Regions from separate parts of the Homo sapiens genome. Here all the other regions are linked to region 3. The links are contacts of gene promoters, found by promoter capture Hi-C in blood cells and fetal thymus (Javierre and others, 2016). All regions are on one chromosome and are shown on one strand. Each heading gives the region's core, a stretch centred on a gene start or on the middle of the fragment in contact. The rest is flanking DNA. Distances are from core to core; before and after follow the strand shown.

What was found. Contacts are between HindIII fragments. The CHiCAGO score rates a contact against its expected background, and 5 or more counts as called.
Region 1: a contact is called between a fragment that was not itself captured here and the fragment with the promoter of H2BC6-AS1 in region 3, in 8 of 17 cell types (monocytes, total CD4 T cells, activated CD4 T cells and 5 more). The highest score is 13.0, in monocytes.
Region 2: a contact is called between a fragment that was not itself captured here and the fragment with the promoter of H2BC6-AS1 in region 3, in 2 of 17 cell types (M2 macrophages and M0 macrophages). The highest score is 9.2, in M2 macrophages.
Region 4: a contact is called between the fragment with the promoter of OR2B2 here and the fragment with the promoter of H2BC6-AS1 in region 3, in 1 of 17 cell types (neutrophils). The highest score is 7.3, in neutrophils.
Region 5: a contact is called between a fragment that was not itself captured here and the fragment with the promoter of H2BC6-AS1 in region 3, in 1 of 17 cell types (neutrophils). The highest score is 5.0, in neutrophils.
Region 6: a contact is called between a fragment that was not itself captured here and the fragment with the promoter of H2BC6-AS1 in region 3, in 1 of 17 cell types (naive CD8 T cells). The highest score is 6.2, in naive CD8 T cells.
Region 7: a fragment that was not itself captured here is called in contact with the fragment with the promoter of H2BC6-AS1 in region 3 in 3 of 17 cell types (naive B cells, activated CD4 T cells and fetal thymus); the score reaches 7.3 in naive B cells.

What each region holds. Positions count from the first base shown.
Region 1 is chr6:27,752,027-27,755,512 of GRCh38, reverse strand. It overlaps TRV-AAC1-5 (tRNA-Val (anticodon AAC) 1-5), which reads left to right and starts at 2,041; the gene lies at 2,041-2,113. RefSeq lists a silencer at 1,938-2,077 and enhancers at 2,528-2,617, 2,788-2,847. The HindIII fragment of the contact is 1,415 bases long and covers 614-2,028 here.
Region 2 is chr6:27,771,923-27,775,170 of GRCh38, reverse strand. No RefSeq gene overlaps it. Among named protein-coding and RNA genes, the nearest start is that of TRQ-CTG6-1, 18 kb to the left of the region's middle. The HindIII fragment of the contact is 4,434 bases long and covers 1-3,248 here.
Region 3 is chr6:26,170,737-26,174,048 of GRCh38, reverse strand. H2BC6-AS1 (H2BC6 antisense RNA 1) reads left to right here and starts at 1,276. Exons shown (of 3, transcript NR_186648.1): 1 at 1,276-2,014. It also overlaps a transcript of H2BC5 not described here. RefSeq lists an enhancer at 1,310-2,202. The HindIII fragment of the contact is 22,011 bases long and covers 1-3,312 here.
Region 4 is chr6:27,910,903-27,914,229 of GRCh38, reverse strand. OR2B2 (olfactory receptor family 2 subfamily B member 2) reads left to right here and starts at 1,834. Exons shown (of 1, transcript NM_033057.2): 1 at 1,834-3,045. The coding sequence starts at 1,911. The coding sequence ends at 2,984. The HindIII fragment of the contact is 2,345 bases long and covers 530-2,874 here.
Region 5 is chr6:27,670,600-27,674,247 of GRCh38, reverse strand. It overlaps TRS-CGA3-1 (tRNA-Ser (anticodon CGA) 3-1), which reads left to right and starts at 1,717; the gene lies at 1,717-1,798. TRR-ACG2-4 (tRNA-Arg (anticodon ACG) 2-4) reads left to right here and starts at 3,611; the gene lies at 3,611-3,648. The HindIII fragment of the contact is 3,512 bases long and covers 364-3,648 here.
Region 6 is chr6:27,474,048-27,477,741 of GRCh38, reverse strand. LOC105375001 (a long non-coding RNA gene) reads right to left here. Exons shown (of 2, transcript XR_926664.4): 2 at 1,762-2,648. Among named protein-coding and RNA genes, the nearest start is that of ZNF184, 2.8 kb to the right of the region's middle. The HindIII fragment of the contact is 2,741 bases long and covers 496-3,236 here.
Region 7 is chr6:27,798,500-27,801,793 of GRCh38, reverse strand. No RefSeq gene overlaps it. Among named protein-coding and RNA genes, the nearest start is that of TRQ-TTG3-3, 4.2 kb to the right of the region's middle. The HindIII fragment of the contact is 618 bases long and covers 1,656-2,273 here.

The sequences.
Region 1 (3,486 bases), core at 72-2,571, 1.6 Mb before region 3:
TACACCACTATGTCCAGTTTAACAATATTTTTTATCTTTTTTCTTTCTTTTTTTCTTTAACAATATTTTTAATGATCATTGTTGCTGCTAATCTGGTCTTGATTTGTTAATTGGGAAATACAGTCTAATTTGTTAATTGGGAATTACAGTCTTTCTTTCAGTTGTTACCCACAGCATTCCAATTATTCATGATCCAGCTACTACCAGCTCACATGATCTCAAGGTGAGAAGGGGCTCTCTGTTCCTGGCACCCATGGAAGAAAGAATACTAAGTAGAGGAAAAAGTAAGCACAGACTTTCTCCAGACTGGTCTGGCAGCCCAACCACCACCTCTAAGCACAGAGAGTGTGTGGTGTTTATATGCAAAGTGAAGTTATAAGGAGGAATCTGGAAGAAGGCAGCTTGCTTCTAGGTGTGCAGTGAAAGTAGATAGAGGAAGACAGTGAAAAGGGAGAGAAGAACAAAGAAAAGAAAAAAATACACGAGCGTTTTATCCTCCTTTTCTAAATCAAATAGCATTGAACTGTCACATTCCAGAGAAATAATTATTTGTGACATAGAATCCAATCTTGTAACCTTGTACCTGTTCCCCAGTATATCTCATCCTGAAGCTTACCTGCTCTGTAACAAATGCTAATAGTCCCAAGAGCTCAGTCTTACAGGTCCGGGTTCCTAAAAGGGTCATTTTCTGGCACTAGAAAGATGAAGATCAGAACAAGTTGCATGGATAAGATAAGGACACTATGGTAGAATTTTTTTAAAAAAATCAAATCATCTGCTCTCTACTTCTCTATCTACTTGAGGTTTTCTTGCCTGGCATTTGCAAAGAAATTGGGGCTCATGGGTGAATACTTGGATTGCTAAAATGATAAAGTTTGGCTGTTGGTTTTAGTACACTAAAAGTACAAGGGCAAGAAACGTACCACCACTGTGAGAGTTTCTGGGAAGAAAGGGCAGCTTTGAGATTATAGAACCTGGGGCATCTGGAAAAACTGTATTTTTTTTTTCCTGTAGAAGAGACATGGGACCAAAGGCAAGTTTTACTGGTATTGTGGTTATCACATTTGCCCAATACAGTAAAGACCCTTGGTTTGAAACTCAGTAAGATTTATTATTATTATTATTTGAACAGAACTCTTTTGTTTTCTCTCCTGTCCTGGACTTGAAATCGGCTTATCCAAACCCTAGAGACGCTGACACCCCGCATGCTTTCCCCTCCCACCGTTCAGGGCGTTGCCAGCTCCTCCCTCCTGCATGGTCGGCTGGGTTCCACCAGCTCCGCTAGTGTTAACAGGAGGAAGTGTCCCCCTGGTCTGCATCTCCCTGGTGATCTGGTTCTCATCCGAATGCAGACAGCGGAAAGGGAGGGTTTTCCACAAGGAGGTCGGCAAGTATTTCTAGAAAGAAAAGAGCTTCTCTTCTAATTAGAGCACCAAAGACTACGCTACAGTCAGGTGAAGTCATTAGCCAGTTATTTATTATTTTTGTTATGGGAAGCATAATGTTCTACTTTTTATAGAATTCCTTCGAATTGAGTTATCATTGAAGCTACTAGTTGGTTACAACTAAACATTAAAATGTTTATATCTTATAAACATTATATAACATTATATATAATGTTATATAAACATTATATAACATTAAAACATTTATATCTATAAATTTGAAAACTAATCAGTATTTTTTAAAGTATAAAACAATGGGAAGAACATCTAAATACTAGAAATAGGTTTAAAAATTAGTTCATAGATTCATAGATGCATAAATCTTAACAAATTACCTTTCCCAAATTAATTCTATGCCTCTTTGTATAAGTAACTACTGGGAAATATAGTTTATTATACAAAAAAGTACAAACCGATTATTTATCAAATGTTCCTCAACTTAAATTAGGACATCGAGTTTTTATATTATAAATAGTAAATGTGAAAGTGTGTAATTCACCATAATCAAAAAAAAATCGGAGGTGGGGGTGGAGGGAAAGGGGGAGAATTCAGGACTAGTCTTTTAGGTCAAAAAGAAGAAGCTTTGTAACCGTTGGTTTCCGTAGTGTAGTGGTTATCACGTTCGCCTAACACGCGAAAGGTCCCCGGTTCGAAACCGGGCGGAAACAAAGAGAGTCGCTTTTTTTTCTATCGCTAATTCTGTTTTTGAGTATTTTCATTTGAACCAATAGAATCTTTGCTTTTTGCCGAGCACGTGAACCCTCAACTTCTGTACTCCTTCCGTCACCCAGCGACGTGGCGCTGAATCCCGCGTCACACCTTTCTCTACCCCACGCCGAACCCTCACCCTCATCCTCCTTTTCTGATCTCCGTCTGAGTGACCCCGGTGGTGTCAATCCCAATAGGCACCGGAGTCCCAGAACTCCACCCGCCTGCACCTCGCAGGTGAGACAGGCTTTCTTGGAATCCAGAGAGCAGCACTTGCGGGTTTTTCGTGGAGGGGGTTTCCTCGGGGATTTCTAAGGAAGAGCGCTTCGCTTTGAGCCCTTCGGGGAATTGGATTTGCTCTTTTTTTGCTGAAGCACAGAGAGGAAACACTTTTTTTTTTTTTTTTTTTTGAGACAGAGTTTCGCTGTTGTTGCCAGGCTGGAGTGCAGTGGCACGATCTCGGCTCACTGCAACCCCCGCCTCCCGGGTTCAAGCGATTCTCCTCCCTCAGCCTCCCGAGTAGGTGGGATTACCACCACGCTCCGCTAATTTTTGTATTTTTAGTAGAGATGGGGTTTCGCCATGTTGGCCAGGCTTGTCTCGAACTCCTGACCTCAGGTAACCCACCCGCTTCGGCCTCCCACAGTGCTGGGATTACAGGCGTGAGCCTCCGCGCCCGGCCAAAACAAACTTTTTGACAGCTCTTAAACTTTCACCATGGATTGTGCACTTGGACAAGGATATAAAAGTGTGTTTGAATTCGAACCAGTCCAAAGAAAGTCAGCATTTTCTCTTCTGTCCGGTTATCTATTTATTACCTCTCAGCAGCAAAATCACTTTTCCTTGCTCCATAACAATGGAACGGAGCTGGGCCCTTTAAATATTTTCTGTCGCAGTTTAGCTCAATATTAAATTTTGTCAATAGAGGGCGATGGAGAGACATTGCTGGAGGAAATAATCTCTTGGCGTTACTGTGCACAGTGGCCTGGCTCCCACAGCCTGAGCAGTTTACCTAGTAGGAACCTCCTGCAGTGCATGGTGGCCAGCAGTACTTTGGGGGAACCTCCTTTAGAGCATCTCTGGTAACAGACTTCCCCATGAACATTTTTCTTTGGTACTCTAGATGGCACATGACCTGCACCTTCCGCTGGAGCACTTTTTTTCTACCCTCCCAACCTGGATGCAGGTCTGGATCTCAGCCCTGGTGGGGAAGAGAATACTTGCGTGCTCCATCTCAGCCCTCAGCCCTAGGGGTGTTAGCTGCTTCTTATATGGGCCAGCCTGGTCTGGAATCCCTGACCTGAGTTGATCCGCCCACCTCGGCCTCCCAAAG
Region 2 (3,248 bases), core at 29-2,528, 1.6 Mb before region 3:
CTCCCTAATCTCAAGTACCCAGGGACACAAACACTGCAGAAGGCCGCAGGGACCTCTGCCTAGGAAAGCCAGGTATTGTCCAAGGTTTCTCCCCATGTGATAGTCTGAAATATGGCCTCTTGGGAAGGGAAAGACCTGACCGTCCCCCAGCCCGACACCTGTAAAGGGTCTGTGCTGAGGAGGATTAGTATAAGAGGAAGGCATGCCTCTTGCAGTTGAGACAAGAGCAAGGCATCTGTCTCCTGTCCGTCCCTGGGCAATGGAATGTCTCGGTATAAAACCCGATTGTACGTTCCATCTACTGAGATAGGGAAAAACCGCGTTAGGGCTGGAGGTGGGACATGCGGGCAGCAATACTGCTTTGTAAAGCATTGAGATGTTTATGTGTATGCATATCTAAAAGCACAGCACTTAATCCTTTACCTTGTCTATGATGCAAAGACCTTTGTTCACGTGTTTGTCTGCTGACCCTCTCCCCACAATTGTCTTGTGACCCTGACACATCCCCCTCTCGGAGAAACACCCACGAATGATCAATAAATACTAAGGGAACTCAGAGGCTGGTGGGATCCTCCATATGCTGAACGCTGGTCCCCCGGGTCCCCTTATTTCTTTCTCTATACTTTGTCTCTGTGTCTTTTTCTTTTCCAAGTCTCTCGTTCCACCTTACGAGAAACACCCACAGGTGTGGAGGGGCAACCCACCCCTTCATTCTCTCTTCACTAGAAAACCAGTGAGGAAGTGGAAGGAGGAGACTGAGCACCTGCCATGTAATATGCAGTGGTGTACCTCACTTAATGTGCAGCAGGAAGAGCCGCAGACAAAACCCCTCAGACACCGAGTTAAAGAAGGAAGGGGTTTATTTGGCCTGGAGCATCGGCAAGACTTCTGTCTCAAGAACCGAGCTCCCTGAGTGAGCAATTCCTGTCCCTTTTAAGGGCTCACAACTCTAAGGGGGTCCACATGAGAGGGTCGTGATCAACTGAGCAAGCAGGGGGTGCATGTTTGGGGGCTGCATGCACCAGTAATCAGAACGGAACAGAACAGGACAGGGATTTTTACAATGCTTTTCCATACAATGTCTGGAAACTATAGATAACATAACCAGTGTTAGGTCAGGGGTTAATCTTTAACTACCAGGCCCAGGGCGTGGCGCCGGGCTGTCTGCCTGTGGATTTCATTTCTGCTTTTTAGTTTTTACTTCTTCTTTCTTTGGAGGCAGAAATCGGGCATAAGACAATATGAGGGGTGGTCTCCTCCCTCATTCGCTCACCTCATTAAAAGTGATGAGGCTGTCTTTGTCTTACAGATGAGAAGACTGAGGCATAAATCTGTGACCCTTCACCTGTATGTTTCAATTTCATGTCTATGTTTATCAGGATGCTTTTTTGTTTGTTTGTTTTTGCAGAGGGTGGGGAACAGGGTCTTGCTCTGTCACCTAGGCTGCAGTGCAGTGGCACGATCATAACTCACTATAACCTTGACCTCCTGGGCTTAAGTGATCCTCCTACCTCAGCCTCCCCAGTAACTAGGACTACAGGCCCACACCACCACACCTGGCTAATTTTTTTATTATTATTTTTTGTGGAGATGAGGTCTCGCTAGGCATGAGCCACGAGACCTATTCCTCGTTTTTGAAAGGTAAAGGATCCGACACTTTAGAAGAAAGGTAAAGGAGGAATTTTTAGAGAAACCAGTTCAAGAGAAGCTGTTAATGGTACTTACAGGAAACATAAGTGTTTGAACGACAAGGCTGGAAAAGAATTAATGCACCATGGGACAATTATCATAACGAGAGTGGTAAGGAGATGGAATGGAGAGTTGGGGGGAAGGAGAAATCAGCAGTTTCCCAGATCTGGAATTACAACAGGGCCCCAAGTTCCCATCCCACCATCAGGAAAGATACCTGGTGAGAACCTCAAATAGACCTGCTGATGTTTCTTCAACACTGCCTTGCACGTCCCTTTCCTCGTGTTCATGTGGGGACCTGCAGGTCATTAAACTACAAATCAGTCTTACCTGCTTCATGAGGAGCTTTTTCCCAAGAGACATTTAGCAAAGAGCTTGGGCGATATCCTTAGCGCTGTAGTGGTGGACAGAGCTTTCCTCCGAGCAGTCTCATGGGCAGAGCTTTCCTCCAAGCAGTCGGAGAGCTTTCCTAAGCTCCTAACAGCTCCTAAAGGAGCTGTTAAAATTAGCTACAAGGACAAGGAAGAGCTTGGGCTGATAAGACCCTAATAAACAGGATGAGGGCTAAGCTGTCTGAAACCGTCTGAGTCCAACGTGGCGCTGGATTTGACCCATGCCCTACCCAAGACCTAATTATATGCTAATTACCAAACGAAATTACACACCTTCAGAGAGCTTTCCTCTGACTGCTTGGAGGAAGCTCTGCCCACCACAAATGCAACGAGTAACCCTGGCACCCAGTTGCGTTTCCGCGGCTTGCTAAAGGCCTGCTCTCCAAGGCTGCCAGGCCTTGCTGAGTTTGCACAAAGAAACGCGGCCCGCGGTAGCAGGCGTCCGGCTTCCTGGGGCGCGCCGCCTGGTGGAGACTGCGGGGAAGGAGCCACAGGAGCTGGTAACTCGACAGCTGATTCTTGTTTGCTGAAAAGGTGCTTTGAAAAGTGACTCTCACGTTAGCCTTTGGTTGCTGCTCTTCTTACACATCACGAGTAAGGCCCTCCTCCCCTCAGCGAAGACTCTACAAATCAAGAGGCCAGGATGAGGTTGGTTAAGGATTGGTTAGTGTCTGCATGACGGGTATAGGCCAGGAGGGAGGCTGAAAATGCACTGCGGGTCTATGGTCATACCACTCTGAACGCGCCCGATCTCGTCTGAAAATGCACCGCGGGAGATTCACAACTGTCAATACGTGGGACAGGATTGTAGCCGGCAGGTTCGAACCTATGCAGACAGGCTTAATTATATTTTCATCACCTTAAGCATCCAGAGGCTGCACCACATTGTCAGCTAATCACTTCATGTTGTGTTGTCTTGCCGGTTGTATCTGTTTTAAAGCTAAGTAAATTTAGGGATGGGGGTTGTTGTGGACTGAACTGTGTCCATCAAAATTCCTGTGCCAAACCCCTAATCTCAACGTGACTGTATTTGGAGATAGGGCATTTAAGGAGGTAATTAAGGTTGAATGAGGTCAAAACGGTGAGACCCCAATCCAAAAGGATGGGAGGGGGGAGACGGAGGAAGGAGCCTACTCTAATGACCTCATTTTAATTTAATCACCCCTA
Region 3 (3,312 bases), core at 27-2,526:
CCCAGAGCAGTGGCTCACGCCTGTATTCCTAGCACTTTAGGAGGCTGAGGCAGGTGGATCACTTAATGTCAGGAGTTCAAGGCCAGCCTGGCCAATGGCGGCCTATCTTCTTCTGATAATACAAAACTTAGCCAGATGTGGTGGCACGCACCTGTAGTCCCTGTTACTTGGGAAAGTGAGGCAGAAGAATCGCTTGAACCTGGGAGGTAGAGGTTGTAATGAGCTTAGATCAGGGCACTGCACTCCAGCCTGGGAGACAGAGTGAGATTCCATCTCAAAATAAAAACTAAAATAATAAAAAATAAAATAAAATAAAATAAAATAAATAAAATAAAAAAGAGATTAATAAAGAAAAAACATGATCATCTCCAAAGATACTGCGAAAGCATTTAACAAAATATAACACTCTTTAATCATAAACACTTAACAGACTACAATGAGAAGAGAACTTCATAAGGAGGAGCTACAGCGAGTATAACACTTAATGGTGCCGTTTTGGAAGGATTCCCATAGAGGCGGAAGGAAGACAAGTGTGGTGAGAAAGTACTCCTATTCAACACGGCATCACAGGGTTTGGCCAATACCATGAGATAGGAACAGGCAGTCAGAAGAGCAAGGATTCAATAGGAAAAGATGATTATCTTTGAAAATAACATAATTGTCAAGGTAAAAGTTCACAAGAATCTATAAACAATTAGATCAAATAAGAATTGGAATTAGTGGGCATAGGCCAGGCGTTGTGGCTCACGCCTGTAATCCCAGCACTTTGGGAGGCCGAGGCGGGCGGATCACGAGGTCAGGAGATCGAGACCATCCTGGCTAACACGGTGAAACCCCGTCTCTACTAAAAAATACAAAAAAACTTAGTCGGGCGTGGTGACTGTAGTCCCAGCTACTCGGGAAGCTGAGGCAGGAGAATGGCGTGAACCCGGGAGGCAGAGCTTGCAGTGAGCCGAGACTGCGCCACTGTACTCCAGCCTGGGGGACAGAGCGAGACTCCGTTTCAAAAAAAAAAAAAAAAAAATTAAAGTCATATGAAGATTAATATGTAACATCTTCTTCGACTTAAATGTTCATTTTTTTCCTTCTGACTTTAGAAGAAATTAAAATATTTTCATGAGCCTCCAAAAGAACTGCGGACCCTAGACACCGTGCCTGCTGTTTAATGGAGTACGGCACTGCGTGTACCGGAAGATGATTTTTTTAAAAAAAAACTCAATTAGGAAATAATTATTCGCACACATTCATATACATACATACATACACTGAATCCTCACACGAAGAGCCCTACAGGCGTGAGAACAGTAAGGGAGATGCAAGAAAGGTCTCCTTGGAGTTGGGAGGCGTATTTACAGCTACTAGAGAAGGGGGAAGTGCCAGCTCCCCGAGAAGAAAGCAGGAGGATGCTGAGAGACTAAAGCTGAAATTTTCTGCCTGCTTCCTCACTCTTTTCGTTGGTTTCAGCCGTCTGAAAAACCCTTGTGAGAGGAGCAAAAAGGTCAAGGGAAGATTGTTGCCTTGCTCTCAGTCTTCAAAATTTTCGATCCTCCGTTTTTTTTGTTTTGAGACGCAGTCTCGCTCTGTCGCCTAGGCTGGAGTGCAGCGGCGCGATCTCGGTCACTGCAACCTCCGCCTCCCTGGTTCTAGCGATTCTTCTGCCTCAGCCTCCTGAGTAGCTGGGACTACAGGCGCGTGCCACCACACCCGGCTAATTTTTTTGTACTTTTGATAGGGACGGGGTCTCACGGTGTTAGCCAGGATGGTCTCTATCTCCTGAACTCGTGATCCGCCCGCCTCGGCCTCCCAAAGTGCTGGGATTACAGGCGTGAGCCACCGCGCCCGGCCGGTCCTCTGTTTTTAAACTGTAAAGGACTCCAGCGGATTGTTCGAAGTCTCCGATATCCCGCGATCTGGTGGCCGCAGAAGAAAGAGGCCGAGTCGGCGGGGACTGGGAACCACCAGTTAGCGGCCTACGGGCAACCTCCCGGACGCGCGCGCCGGGCCGACGTTAAACGTACGTGACGCCCTATGCGGGAGCCGGATGGGCGTAACGGGGCGGCGGCGTAACGTGTGGCTCTGTGGTTAGGGCACGGAGGGGCGTGGCCGGACGGCCCTATGAGGGGGCCGGCGTTTTTGGCGAGGGTTGATGGGATGACCCTATGAGGGAGCCTGCGTGGAGGGGCACGACCGGCCCCAAGACTCCTTTTCATGGCCGCATAGCCGCACCGGGAGTAGGATGACCGCTGTTATTTTTCAGGACCTCTCATCTTCGGTTTGAAATTCTTTGCTTTTTTCCGGCTTTGTGTGGCTATTTAGTATTAGCATTTTAGGGCAGTTTCATTTCCTTTAAAGTAAAACTCTCCAAAGTGGTCTCCGGACCAGCAGCATCAGCATCACCTGCATAATTTAGAAGTACAAATTATCAGGTCCTACCTCAGATCTAATGCATCAGAAAAGTTTTGTGACTGCTTCAAAACATTGTTTCCCTTAATTCAGATGCTGGAGGAGACCTTTCAAATGGCAGCTTAGCATAAGCTAACCAGTTTTTAACTTCAGGTTCATTACCAAAGCCACATCAGTGCTTAGGCCTTATCCACTCAGACCTCCTTGATGCTGGAAAGTAAAGTGAAAATAGGTAGATAGATGTCTAGAAAGGGGAGGTCTTAGAAGAAAGGTTTGGATCAACAATGAAGGCAGAATTTACAATTCTCCGCAGATTTTATTAATTATAACTTTTTTTTTCAGACGTCCTGCCATCTTCTCATTCAGACTTTTCTTAGCAAAGGTAGTCCATGGCAAGTAATGAATTCCCAGTAACTAGGTCTGTAACAGAAGTAAATTCTGTTTTTATGTTTATAAACTCAAAAAGTAACATGAAGTGCAAACACCTTTAGTTCCTTCCCCTCGGTAACCTTCTTTTGATGAACCAGTGTGCAGCAAACCAGGATGAGTTGGATTTGGGTGGGATCCACACAGTCATTTTCAGGCAGATGAGACTTCCTAAGTTCTATGTATAGATTCATATTATCAGTTATTTTATGCATTCATTTCTCCTCTGTCTTCATGTCTCTCCCCTGATTGAAGAAATAAGAAGGGTTTAGTTATTAGGTGCCATTTTGCCATCACCATTAATATTTTCTATACAAAGAGGATTCTTTCTACATGTGCTTCTATAATGAACTATTAGGAATCTCTACTTCAGTTCTAGCTACACTTTAGTAGCATTAACACATAATAAGTCATGCTTAGTCAAGAAATATCACTGAATAATGTGATCTTTGTTTCAAATTCTCCAATTACCCTTCTTGGGTG
Region 4 (3,327 bases), core at 585-3,084, 1.7 Mb before region 3:
CTCCATTTCTAAAGGTGTAAGTCTAGGGTAGGTGTGTGCGTTAATACCTCACATCATTTATACTTCACATCAAGACAACTTAGAAAAACATTACAGTAGTCCTTCCTTATCTGTGGTTTTGCTTTGCACAATTTCAGTTACCCACAGTCAACCATGGTCTGCAAATATTAAAAGGAAAATTACAGAAGTCAACAATTCATAAGTTTTAAATACATGCCATTCTGAATAGCCTGATGAAGTCTTGTGTTGTCCCACCCAGTCATGGGAATCATCCTTCTGTTTAGAGCAGGGGTGTCCAATCTTTTGGCTTCCCTGGGCCACATTGGAAGAAGAAGAATTGTCTTGGGTCTCACATAAAATACAGCAACACTAACAATAGCTGATGAGTTTTTTTTTAATCATCAGTGAATGTCATGATGTTTTAAGAAAGTTTACAAATTTGTGTTAGGCCACGTTCAAAGCCATCCTGGGCTGCGTTCAAAGCCATCCTGGGCTGCATGCAGCCCGTGGGCCTCAGGTTGGACAAGCTTGATTTAAAGCATCCACCTGCCTGTTAGTCACTGAGTAGCCATCTCGGTTATCAGATCGTCAGAACACAGAGGGGTGAGTACACTAGAATAAGGTGTTTTGAAGAGAAAAAAAGAGAGGGACACCACATTCACATAACATGTATTACAATAAATGGGGGTCTGGAGCTGTTATACTTGCTGCATTTTATTAATTATTGTTCTTAATCTCTTACTGTGCCTAATTTATAAATTAAACGTTATAGTTGTGTATGTATTAAAAAACATAGTATATATAGGGTTTGGTACTACCCACAGTTTCAGGTTTCTATCCACTGGTGGTCTTGGAATGTATCCCCCATGGATAAAGGGGGAACCACTGTATCATCTTCATTTTACAAATGAGAATTGTGGAGATCAAAGGGTTAGAAGCATTCCAATATAATGAATGTAACTAATTAGAGAGGGTAGGGATATGAGACCAGCCTGTCACCTTCAAATATCATATTACTAAGGAATCTATACAAATTCTATGAGCTTCTAGAACGAAAAGGATATGTCTCCTTAAATTGTGTCTGATAACTTACTAGATACTGTCTACATGGCTTTTTTGAGGGAAGGGGAATAATGGGAGGTGGCTTTAACTAATGTTAACTGATTTCTACAATCAGGGAATCTCGCTGGCCTTGAAGAGAAATTAGAATGAATTCAAATGACAGGAAACTGTATCTACATCTACCTCACAGTAGATATCTAGGTAGGAAGAATGAGAAAAATACATTTACAAACAGTAAAATATCAAAGGATACATTATGTGAATTTGGAAACTGAAAATATGGCTTAAGATTTTTGAAATTAGGCTGGGCACAGTGGCTCACGCCTGTAATCCCAGCACTTTGGGAGGCTGAGGTGGGCAGATCACCTGAGGTTGGGGTTTGAGACCAACCTGACCAACGTGGAGAAACCCCATCGCTACTAAAAATACAAAATTAGTCGGGGTGGTGGCACATGCCTGTGATCCCACCTACTGGGGAGGCTGAGGCAGGAGAATTGCTTGAACCTGGGAGGCGGAGGTTGCGGTGAGCCGAGATGGCGCCATTGCACTCCAGCCTGGGCAAAAGAGTGAAACTCTGCCTCAAAAAAAAAAAAAAAAAAAAAAAAAAAGATTCTTGAAATTCGATTCAATTTGCTAATATGCTGTTACAGATATATAAACACTTTTTAAATACTTGGATGGATAAATATTTATATTTTTATCAATACTTTTTTCACATTATTAATTGGATCAGTCTGTAATTTTATGTAAATTGATAGCAAAATGATTATAGCTGACAAAATCAGGAAGTGTGTTGTTAACTTCCTGACTTCTTATATTTCAGAGAACGAAGAGTTGAACCATTTAACATGAATTGGGTAAATAAGAGTGTCCCACAGGAGTTCATTCTGTTAGTTTTCTCAGATCAACCATGGCTAGAGATTCCACCCTTTGTGATGTTTCTGTTTTCCTATATCTTGACAATCTTTGGCAATCTGACAATAATTCTTGTGTCACATGTGGATTTCAAACTCCACACCCCTATGTACTTTTTTCTTAGCAATCTCTCACTCCTGGACCTTTGCTATACCACAAGTACAGTTCCACAAATGCTGGTAAACATATGCAACACCAGGAAAGTAATCAGTTATGGTGGCTGTGTGGCCCAGCTTTTCATTTTCCTGGCCTTGGGTTCCACAGAATGTCTTCTCCTGGCCGTCATGTGCTTTGATAGGTTTGTAGCTATTTGTCGGCCTCTCCATTACTCAATTATCATGCACCAGAGGCTCTGCTTCCAGTTGGCAGCTGCATCCTGGATTAGTGGCTTTAGCAATTCAGTATTACAGTCCACCTGGACACTTAAGATGCCACTGTGTGGTCACAAAGAAGTGGATCACTTCTTCTGTGAAGTCCCTGCTCTGCTCAAGTTGTCCTGTGTTGACACAACAGCAAATGAGGCTGAACTATTCTTCATCAGTGTGCTATTCCTTCTAATACCCGTGACACTCATCCTTATATCGTATGCTTTTATTGTCCAAGCAGTGTTGAGAATCCAGTCTGCTGAAGGTCAACGAAAGGCATTTGGGACATGTGGCTCCCATCTAATTGTGGTGTCACTTTTTTATGGTACAGCTATCTCCATGTACCTGCAACCACCTTCACCCAGCTCCAAAGACCGGGGAAAGATGGTTTCTCTCTTCTGTGGAATCATTGCACCCATGCTGAATCCCCTTATATATACACTTAGGAACAAAGAGGTAAAGGAAGCCTTTAAAAGGTTGGTTGCAAAGAGTCTTCTTAATCAAGAAATAAGAAATATGCAAATGATAAGCTTTGCTAAAGACACAGTGCTTACTTACCTTACTAACTTCTCCGCAAGTTGTCCTATTTTTGTCATTACTATAGAAAACTATTGTAATCTCCCTCAAAGAAAATTTCCTTGACAAAAAGCTATATTTGTTTCTGTTGCCTAAACATTTTCATTGAACAAGCCCCCAGAATTGGCCTTCCAATGCACCAAAAACTGTAATCACAACATTTTCAAGGGTTGTCACACTTTACATCAATGTTTGTACAATTCAGTGTAAACTAGACCTTTCTGATCCAGAAATCATCTCTTCAGTAATACACACACGCACACACACATACATACATACACACACACACATAGAAACAAAGATGTAAAGGGAGCTTTTGAGAGGTTGCTTGCAAGGGTGTTAATAAAAAAAAAAGGAATTCTCAAATTATAGGCCTTTTAAAGACTTCAATTTTACATAGCTTATAATT
Region 5 (3,648 bases), core at 870-3,369, 1.5 Mb before region 3:
TTGCTAAAGAAGATATACAGATGGCCAATGAGCATAAGAAAAGATGCTCCACATTATATGTAAACAGACAGATGTATTATTGTTTTAATTGTATTATACCACTCACTACCCACCTATTAGAATGGCCAAAATCTGGAACACTGACCACACCTACACTGGTGAGGTTATGGAGCAACAGAAACTCTCATTCATTGTTGGTGGGAATGAAAAATGGTACAGCTACTTTGGAAGACAGTTTGGTGGTTTCTTACAACACTAGACATACTTTTATTATATGATCCAGCAATCACACCCCTTGGCAACTATGCAAAGGAGCTGAAAACATGTCTACACAAAACCTGCACATAAATGTTTATAGAAGCTTTATTCATAATTGCCAAAAGTTGGAAGTAACCAATATGTCTTTCAGTAGGTAAATGAATAAATATACTACGGTACCTCAGACAATGGAATATTATTCAGCCCTAAAAATAAATGAGTTATTAAAGCATGAAAAGACACGGAGGAATCTTAAATGCTTATTACTAAGTGGAAGACAACCAGGAAAATTGTTACCCTAAAGTCAATTGAAGAAAGTGTTGTAAGAAGGAGAATGTATTAATAGCTGCAGCTATCCCAAGTAAGGTGAGGACTGGGAAATGATTTTAGCCATGTGGAGATAATCGGCGACCTTGTCAAGGCATTATAGGATCACTGACAGTCCTTCAGAGGCTGGTAGGTGGATTAATGTGGTGATAGATGTGCGTGGAAGGTCTCTTCTGATTGTGAAGTAGGAAGTAAAGTCATCAATTGAACACAAGGATGGGAGAGGAGGTGTTGGAGCATTGGCATGAGAGATATGAAATAGTGACTTATTTTTTTTTTTTTTGAGACGGAGTCTCACTGTCTGTCACCCAGGCTGGAGGGCAGTGGCGCCATCTCAGCTCACTGCAACTCCGCCTCCCAGGTTCAAGTTATTCTCCTGCCTCAGCCTCCCGAGTAGCTGGGATTACAGGCGCGAGCCATCACATCTGGCTTTTTTTTTTTTTTTTTTTTAGTAGAGATGGGGTTTCGCCATGTTGGCCAGGCTGGTCTCGAACTCCTAACCTCAGGTGATCTCCCCCCCCGCCTCGGCCTCCAAAGTGCTAGGATTACAGGCTTGGACCACTGCATCCGGCTGAAACAGTGACTTAGAACAAGAGGATTGGGAGTGGACTAATCTAATCGCGTATGGTACAATTTGCCTGGTAGCCTTGAGCACCTACTTGACATTCATTGTCATGAATTTAAAGTGAGGTCTGTCAACTGATTGTTTTTCTTCCGCCATGTTTAGCTGCCCTGGTTGTGGCTTTGCCAAAGGAGTACAAAGTGAGAGAGGCAGGGAAATTGAGAGTGCAGCAAGAACGTGACTCTAACATGTGCTGGGTAAAGAGAGAAGAAAATTCATGAACTGGAGGGAGGAATAGGGAACAGACAACTGAGTCTCCGGGGATTTGTTCCAGCAACAAAAGCAGCCACTAAGCACCAAATAAGTTTCTGATGCATAGAGAGTCAGATAACAAGTAAAGATTAAGACACTATTATGTTTCCCAGGAACTTCTTATTGAAAGAGAGAGACAAATATATAAAAAGTGACAAATACAAACACGGAAGCATTAACCTGCCGTGGGAACATTAAAAAGCGAGAGAGTCAAAGAGCCTAACACGACTTCCTCTGAAACAAAAAGTGTCCTCGGAGCTGTGATGGCCGAGTGGTTAAGGTGTTGGACTCGAAATCCAATGGGGGTTCCCCGCGCAGGTTCAAATCCTGCTCACAGCGTCGCCATTTTCTGGTTAGATTTCCAATTTGCTACTTTCATCAGTTAGCTTTCATTAGTTCACTAGGATAGAAAGTTGTGAGTGCTATCGCTGTGGCTTTTACAGCGCGCGCACACTTGTGGAAATGTACATCAAGAAATATGTACATTTGAAGGCCGGGCGCGGTGGCTCACTTCTGCAATCCCCGCACTTGGGGAGGCCGAAACGGGCGGATCATTTGAGGTCAGGGGTTGGAGACCAGCCTGACCAACACGGTGAAACCCCGTCTCTACTAAAAATGCAGAAAAATTAGCCGGGCTTACTGGCGCACGCCTGTAGTCCCAGCTACTTGGGAGCCTGAGGCAGAAGAATCGCTTGAACCTGGGAGGCGAAGGTTGCAGTGAGCCGAGATCGCGCCACTGCACTCCAGCCTGGGAGACAGAGTGAGACTGTCTCAAAGAAAAAGAAGATACTAGTTGTCTTACATCTAATCATAATGGCAAATACAAGACAGGTGCAACGTTGAAAATATTAGGAATACAATTTCCCTTTTAGATTACTAGTATGACAGCTTTCTTAAAGCATTCTCAGGCAGCAATCTTTACTTTGTATTTGTCCTGATCTCACAGCTGGTGGGAGCCAAAAAAATTAGGATGATAACAATCCGTCATATGCATTAGTTGCTCTTCAAAGCGTTTTGTATAAACGAGGAAACAGAGGCACAAAGAGGATATATTTTGGCTTCTGACCACCTTCTTAAACCCATACGAAACTTCGTCTCCTTATAAGCACTTCTTCATTTTCCACTATTTTGCTTACTTTGAACAGCTATGCAAGTAAAGTTCCTTTTTCTAAGTTTCTATGTCAAATGTGATTCTGAAAAATGTGTACTTTCCCGAATTCTTGACTCCTCGTTAAATTTGAGTGTCTTCATCTGCTACTTTGAGTTGTAATACCATTTTACAATAAACTTCTCCCTAGTGAGTGGGTACTTGTTTTTTCCTTTTGGACGAGAAGAGGGAAAAACTATGATTAATACTTCCAGAAATGTATTACAAAGCACTTTACTTTTGGCAATATCTAAATTTAAAATAATACATATTGCTCATTACTGATCCACATACATCATTAGTGCCCAATGTAAGTATATTAAAAATGAAATTCAGGCCAGACACGGTGGCTCACGCCTGTAATCCCAGCACTTCGGGAGGCCGAGGCGGGCGAGTCACCTGAAGTAGGAAGTTCGAGATCAGCCTGACCAACACGGAGAAACCCCGTCTTTACTAAAAATACAAAATTAGCCGTGCATGGAGGCACATGCCTGTAATCCCAGCTACTTGGGAGGCTGAGGCATGAGAATCACTTGAACCCAGGAGGCGGTGGTTGCAGTGAGCCGAGATCGCGCCGCTGCACTCCAGCCTGGGCAACAAGAGCGAAACTCCGACTCAAAAAAAAAAAAAAAAAAAAAAAAAATCAAATTCAGGTAAAAGCAGCTGATTGGCCTGAAAAATAAGTAACAAAAAGCTAAAAAGTAGGCACACACATGAAAGAGAAGATAGAAACACCAATATTGCTTTGAAGGAAAGACATTCATCTTAGCTCATATATAATGTTTCAAAGATGAAAAATGGTCATTATTTTCAATAAAGACACTTTATGTGAATGTCTATTATGCCAACAAACCACAAAAGAAAACATGCTTTCCTTGAATCAGTGTGGTTTGGGGTTTTAATCCCTACCTAAATAAAGAAACAATCTTTTTTTTTTCTGGCCCCAATAGTATAATACAATATAATTATGAAAAGAGTAACAGTTAAGACAGCGTTACAGGCAGGGGCCAGTGGCGCAATGGATAACGCGTCTGACTACGGA
Region 6 (3,694 bases), core at 617-3,116, 1.3 Mb before region 3:
AGAGCTCAGAAAATGATACCCCAAAGTATGGCTCTTGGAAGTGCTGAGTACTTTGAACTAAAGAAGCAACCTCAGAATCAAAGTCTCTCTGACCTTCCGCAGCCCCACTGCCTCCTGATCCTCTTTCTTTCTTGAATGGCAGGGAGGGGCTTTCACTGAAGTTTCCCTTATTTGACTTACGGAGGTTCCTCCAGAAGGAAAGAGATTGTCATGAACCCTCTCCTGGAATCTGTATTAACCAGAGAAGATTAACTCAGATCCCAGGAGAGAAAACTAAAGGTCTCCATGCCCGGGACATCTCGCCCAGCCAGACTTCAATTCTTTTCTTCACCACCTATTCTGAGGGCTGCTACTTGAGAGACTTTATCTGTATAATAAGACAAGCTTTGTTCCCAGAGCTGTTCCTGCCCTGACCCTCACATTGCTTCTCGCCACCACCTTCCAGGAGCCTTCAAGCTCCTATTTCTTTATGTAGCTCCAAGTCCTATTTAAGCTTCAACCATCTGCCCCTTCTTTGAGTCTCACTTACACTTTCTGGGACCTCTGTGCATATGTGCATAATAAATGTGTATGCCTTTTCTTCTGTTAATCTGTCTACTAGCAGCTTTATTTCTCAGACTCAAATATCCAACCTCCAGAAGGGAGAAAAAAGATTCTCTCACCCCTACAGGCTCAAAAGAAGACTAAAAGAAATTCACTAGTTTTATGGAAGACCATAATTTGAGGGAATAGACATGAAGCAGTTTGATGGGGTAGCCAGGTGTCCATACAAATATAAGTTGTGCTATAGATTGTTGTTCATAGTTAATGCATATCACATCCTTTTTATTTGGTGGACATATTTTTATCAAGCACATCTTTATTTTTTTTTGCTGAAATCATTTGCAACTCCAGCTTTGAATAAAGTTAGATACCAAAGAAATATCAAATCTCTTTTAAGAAATTTAAAAAAATTTTAGAATCAGGGTCTTACTCTATCACACAGACTGGAGTGCAGTGGCACCATCATAGCTTACTGTAACCTGAACTCTTGGGCACAAGCCATCCTTCTGCCTCAGCCTCCAGAGTAGCTAGGAATAGAAGCATGCACCACCACTCCTAGCTAACTTTTTTTTCTTTGTAGAAAAAAAATGTATTTTCTTTGTATTCCTTGTATTTGAAGAAAAACTGACAATTTGCCTTTTTAAGTATAGAAGGACATTTGATTTGTTTCCAATTTAGGGCTAAAGTAGAAACTGGACTGGTTTTTGTTTCCTGCAACTAAGTCCTGACTCTCTACCTTTACTGAGATCCATTCTACTATGTTTTTGTTTTCAGCCCAGTAAAACAAGTAAGATTGCAGCTGTGGCCAGTCCCTAGTCATTGTTACAGTAAAACAAGCCAAAGTTGATTAGTAATTTCAGTTCAAATATATCACTAGTTGCTTTGTATTTTGCTGAGGTGTTTTTTTAAGCACAAAAGGTTTCTGAGGGCTGGGTTCAGTGGCTTATGGACTGTAACCCCAGCATTTAGGAAGGCCGAGGTGGGAGGATTGCTTGAGGTCAGGAGTTGGAGGCCACTTTGTGCAACATATAGAGAAGTCACTGAAGACAAAAATTATATCTTTCTGTGTCCTCAACATGTATTGAAAGCCTCATTTGTATAAGGTATGGCTAAAAGTTTTCCAAATCATGAGTGCTGGTTCCTTTGTGCTGAATAGTTCCTTCCTCAGTTTATTTCTTTCCTCATGCATTTCACCATAAGCAGCAATAACTAACCAGGTTGCACATTCCACATTTTACTTGGAAGTCTTCTTAACTAAATATTCAAGTTCATCATGTACAAATTCTGTTTTCCACCCAAATATAGAATACAATTCAGCCAAGGCTCTCCCACTTTATAACAAGATAACCATTCCTTCAGTTTCTAATTGCATGTCATTAATTTCCTTCTGAGACCTTACCATAAGCATATTTAACATTCTTATATTTTAAATTTAATAGAACATTTTGGGAACAGTTTTAGGTTTATAGAAAAATTGAGCAGAAAGTAGAGTTTCAGTATACTCCTTCCTTCTCCCCTCCTCCCCCAGTTTCTCTATTATTAACATCTTGCACTAGTGTGGTACATCTGTTAAAATTGATGAGCCAATGTTGATAAATTATTATTAACTAAAGACCATAGTTTATATTACGGTTCACTCTTTGTGCTGTATATTCTATGGGTTTTAACAAATGTATAACAACATGTATTCGCCATTACAATATCATACAGAATAGTTTCACTGCCTTAAAAATCCACTGAACGTCACTTATTCTTCCCTCTTAAAATCCACTGAACGTCACTTATTCTTCCCTCTTAAAATCCACTGAATGTCACTTATTCTTCCCTTTTTCCCTCCCCCTAAGCCCCTGGCAACCACCAATCTTTGCTGTTTCCATAGATTAGCCTTTTCAGGAATGTTATGTAGATGGAATTATACAGTATATAGCCTTTTCCAGATTGACTTCTTTCACTCACCAATACGCACTTAATATTCTTCTGTTCTTCCTTTTTGGTAGCTTGATAGCTCATTTCTTTTCCTTACTGAATGTTCCATTGTCTGAATGTACCATAGTTTATGTATTCATTCATGTACTGAAGGACATCTGGCTGCTTCCAAGTTTTGCCTATCATGAACAAAGCTGCTATAAACATTCTTGGGCACGTTTTGTGTGGACATACATTTTCAACTCCTTTGCATAAATACCAAGGAACACAATTACTAGATCATATGGTAAGAGTATGTTTAGTTTTGTAAGAAATTGTCAAACTGTCCTCCAACGTAACTCTAATATTTTGCATTCCCACCAGCAATGAATGAAAGTTCCTGTGCTCCACATCCTTGTCAGCATTTGGTATTGTCAGGGTTCTGGATTTTGGCCATTTTGACAGGTGTATAGTGGCATCCCATTGTTTTAATTTGCATTTCACTGAGGACATATGTGGAGCATCTTTTCATATGCTTATTTTCCATCTGCATATCTTCTTTGGTGACATCTGTTAGGGTCTTTGGCCTATTTTTTTAATCGGTTTGTCTCCTTATTGTTGAGTTTTAAGAGTTCTTATATATTTTGGATATCAGTTCTTTATCAGATATGTACTTTGCAAGTATTTTCTCCCAGTCTGTGACTTGTCTTTTCATTCTCTTGAACATTTTTTTTTAAACCAATGTTCTCTTCATGGCAATATATGCATTCTCTAAGATGACCGAAGCTTTCTCTATCATGTTCCCTTGACTGTAATTGTTTTTCATACACTCTGTTAGGATTTCCAGGTTTAATGTTTGTCAGCCAACAGTCTGAGAGACTTGACCTTGGCCCCTTATCCAAATGCTGGGGATGCACGCCAGCATAATAAAATGCAAGTGCCATGTCTTAAATATAAAAACCTACCGATTTGTTGGATTCTTTTTTTCTGCCAAGGACACAGTGACAGACTGGCCATGGGCTACACTTGCAGCTATGTGCTCGCTGACACAGGCATATAAAATGCTTTACTAAGTGGCAAAACATGGGAATATTATCTCCGGGTTTCCTTAAGCATTAGAAAAACATGTTGGGGCCGGGCGCAGTGGCTCACGCCTGCAATCCCAGCACTTTGGGAGGCCGAGGCGGGCGGATCACTTGAGGTCAGGAGTTCGAGACCAGCCTGGCCAACATGGTGACCCCCTCGT
Region 7 (3,294 bases), core at 715-3,214, 1.6 Mb before region 3:
AGCTGGGACTACAGGTGCACACCACCGCACCCAGCTAATATTTGTATTTTTAGTAGAGACGGGGTTTCACCATGTTGGCCAGGCTGATCTCAAACTCCTGAGCTCAGGTGATCCGCCCACCTCGGCCTCCCAAAGTGCTGGGAGTACAGGCGTGAGCCATTGCACCAGGCCTTTTCAAGCAGAGATTTTATTGGGATGCTTGCATCTGAAGGATATATTCACAATAACAAAACTTATAAGAAAATAGTAAAGCTAGAACTCATTGTGTTAATTATAGTGGAAGATGTGCCTGGACTTAGAACTGACCACAAATTGTTAATCAGAAATTGCTTTAGTAAGTAACAAATCAAAGTAAATGAAACAGCCTGGTTACTAAGGAATAGTTTCATAATTTTGAATGGGATTAAAACTTGTCTCTCTTACTGTTGGTGGAATCCTGTCTTAAACAGCCACACAGGCAATCTAGCATGAACTAATAGTCCTTCCTTGGTTGGTTTTGGGCTGCAACTCATTGATAATCATCATGCTTAGTTTGCCTTTGTTCCAATTCCAAGCAGGCCAACCACTTTCCCATGTACATATTGTAACCACCCAAGGGGTTAACCTTGCCCGCTGCCTAGACAGAGCTGATTCATCAAGACAGGGGAATTGCAATAGAGAAAGAGTAATTCACACAGAGCTGGCTGTGCAGGAGACTGGAGTTTTATTACTCAAATCAGTTTCCCTGGGCATTTGGGGAGCAGAGTTTTTAAGGATAACTTGGTGGATGGGGGGAAGCCAGTGAGCCAGGAGTGCTGAATGGTCAGAGATTAAATCATAGGGAGTTGAAGCTCTCTTCTTGTGCTGAGTCAGTTCCTGGGTGGGGGCTACAGGATCAGATGAGCCAGTTAATAGATCTGGGTGGTGCTATCTGACCCATCTTGAGTGCAGCGTCTGCAAAATATCTCAAGCACTGATCTTAGGAGCAGTTAGGGAGGGTTAGAATCTTGTAGCCTCCAGCTGCCATAATTTTTAATCTTGTGGCTAATGTTAGTCCTACAAAGGCAATCCAGTCCCAAGGCAAGAAGGAGGTCTGCTTTGGGAAAGGGCTGTTACCATCTTTGTTTAAACTATAAACTACAAACTAAGTTTCTCCCTAAATTAGTTCAGCCTACACCCAGGAATGAACAAGGATGGCTTGGAGGTTAGAAGCAAGACGGAGTTGGTTAAATTCCATCTCTTTCTCTGTCTCAGTCATAATTTTGCAAAGGTGGCTTCAATATCTGTCATTAAATTGCTGGAATGTTACTTTATTTTGCATTTGACTATTTTTTTTTTAAATTTTTATTTGAGATGAAGTCTCGTTCTGTCGCCCAGGCTGGAGTGCAGTGGCACGATCTCTGCTCACCACAACCTCCACCTCCCAGGTTCAAGCGATTCTCCTGCCTCAGCCTCCCGAGTAGCTGGGATTACAGGCGCGTGCCACTGCACCTGGCTAATTTTTTGTGTTTTTAGTAGAGATGGAGTTTCACCATGTTGGCCAGGCTGGTCTTGAACTCCTGACCTCAGTTAATCTGCCCGCCTCGGCCTCCCAAAGTGCTAGGATTACAGGCGTGAGCCACTGTGCCTGGCCCGATTATTTAATATCTGAGAAACATAAGAGGCTAAGAAAAGCTTTGAAAGAATGTCATCTATTTTATTTATGCTTATATTATGGCCAGGTTATATTTCTTTTTCTTTTTTTTTTTTTTTTGAGATGGAGTCTCACTCTGTTGCCCTGGAGTGCAATGGTGTGATCTCAGCTCACTGCAACCTCCACCTCCCGGGTTCAAGGGATTCTCCTACTTCAGCCTCCCAAGTAGCTGGGATTACAGGCACGTACCACCACGCCCGCCTAATTTTTTAAAAGTTTTTAGTAGAGACAGGGTTTCTCCATGTTGGCCAGGCTGGTCCCGAACTCCTGACCTCAGGTGATCCACCTGCCTCGGCCTCCCACATTGATGGGGTTACAGGCATGAGTCACCGTGCCTGGCCAACCAGGTTATATTTCTATAGCCTCTCCAAATTCTGGGAACGAACCCCACTTGAGGCCTACAACACTAAATTCCCACATCCCCAAAAGATGTACTCAAATATTGGAGCAGTTAGCACAGTCCAGACTATCAAATGTGTTGACCTGAAATCTATTTTCTGTATGGACAAGAAGACTACAGACTGAGAATTTTAATAGAAGATATTGCCATTCATAAGAATTGTGCTGCAGGAAGGAAAAGAGACGAGAAAACCTACAAGCTTAACCAAGAAAATGGATCTAACCTTCCATTCAGTGGCCCCCAGATCTTCCTGTTCCTTTCCATGCAATGAACAAACATAGGAGCTAGAACCTGGTTCCTTGGTGTAAAACAAACAAACAAACAAAAAAACAACAAAAAAAAAACAGCCAAAACTGAGGATCTAAGGTCATCTTGACCTTTGTGAGATCACCACAAAGAAACAAATGCCATTTTGTCCACTGTGTGATCACAAACAAGTCAGTGACACTCATTATACCAGTTTCCTTAACAGCAAAATAGGGGTGAAAATCAGCCTCATTTTATCAGGAAGTTGTATGATTGAATAAGACAATGAATAAGATATATGTAGGACAGGCATGGTGGCTCATGCCCGTAATCCCAGTACTTTGGGAGGCCGAGGTGGGCAGATCACTTGAGGTCAGGAGTTCAGGACCAGCCTGGCCAACATGGTGAAACCTCGTCTCTACTAAAATTACAAAAATTAGCTGGGCATGGTGGCACATGCCTGTAATCCCAGCTACTCAGAAGGCTAAGGCAGGAGAATCACTTGAACCCGGGAGGCAGAGGTTGCAGTGAGCCAAGACTGCGCCACTGAACTCCAGCCTGGGAAACAGAGCGAGGCTCTGTCTCAAACAAACAAACAAACAAACAAAAAAGACATATGTAACAGGGAAATAATTATCACCATGCATTAAGAGGAAAAGAATAATATAGAAATTACTGCAAATTATATTTATAAGTGAGGAAAATCACTCAGAGCCAGTAATTTTACCTCTATATGACCCCATCAGCCAGCTTAAAGGAAATTAACTTACTTAACCAAAAAAACATTTATTGAGCACTTAATATATGAGAGACAATATATTAGCATTGAGAATACACGCTGAAAATAGCCTGCTAAAATTCCTGTTCTTATGGTACTTTGAGGTGGGATTAAATTCCATAACATGTCATCACCTTGATAAGTGGTTTAGATAAAAATACAGCAGGAAAGGGGATAGGGAGCTGGAGATTGCATTTT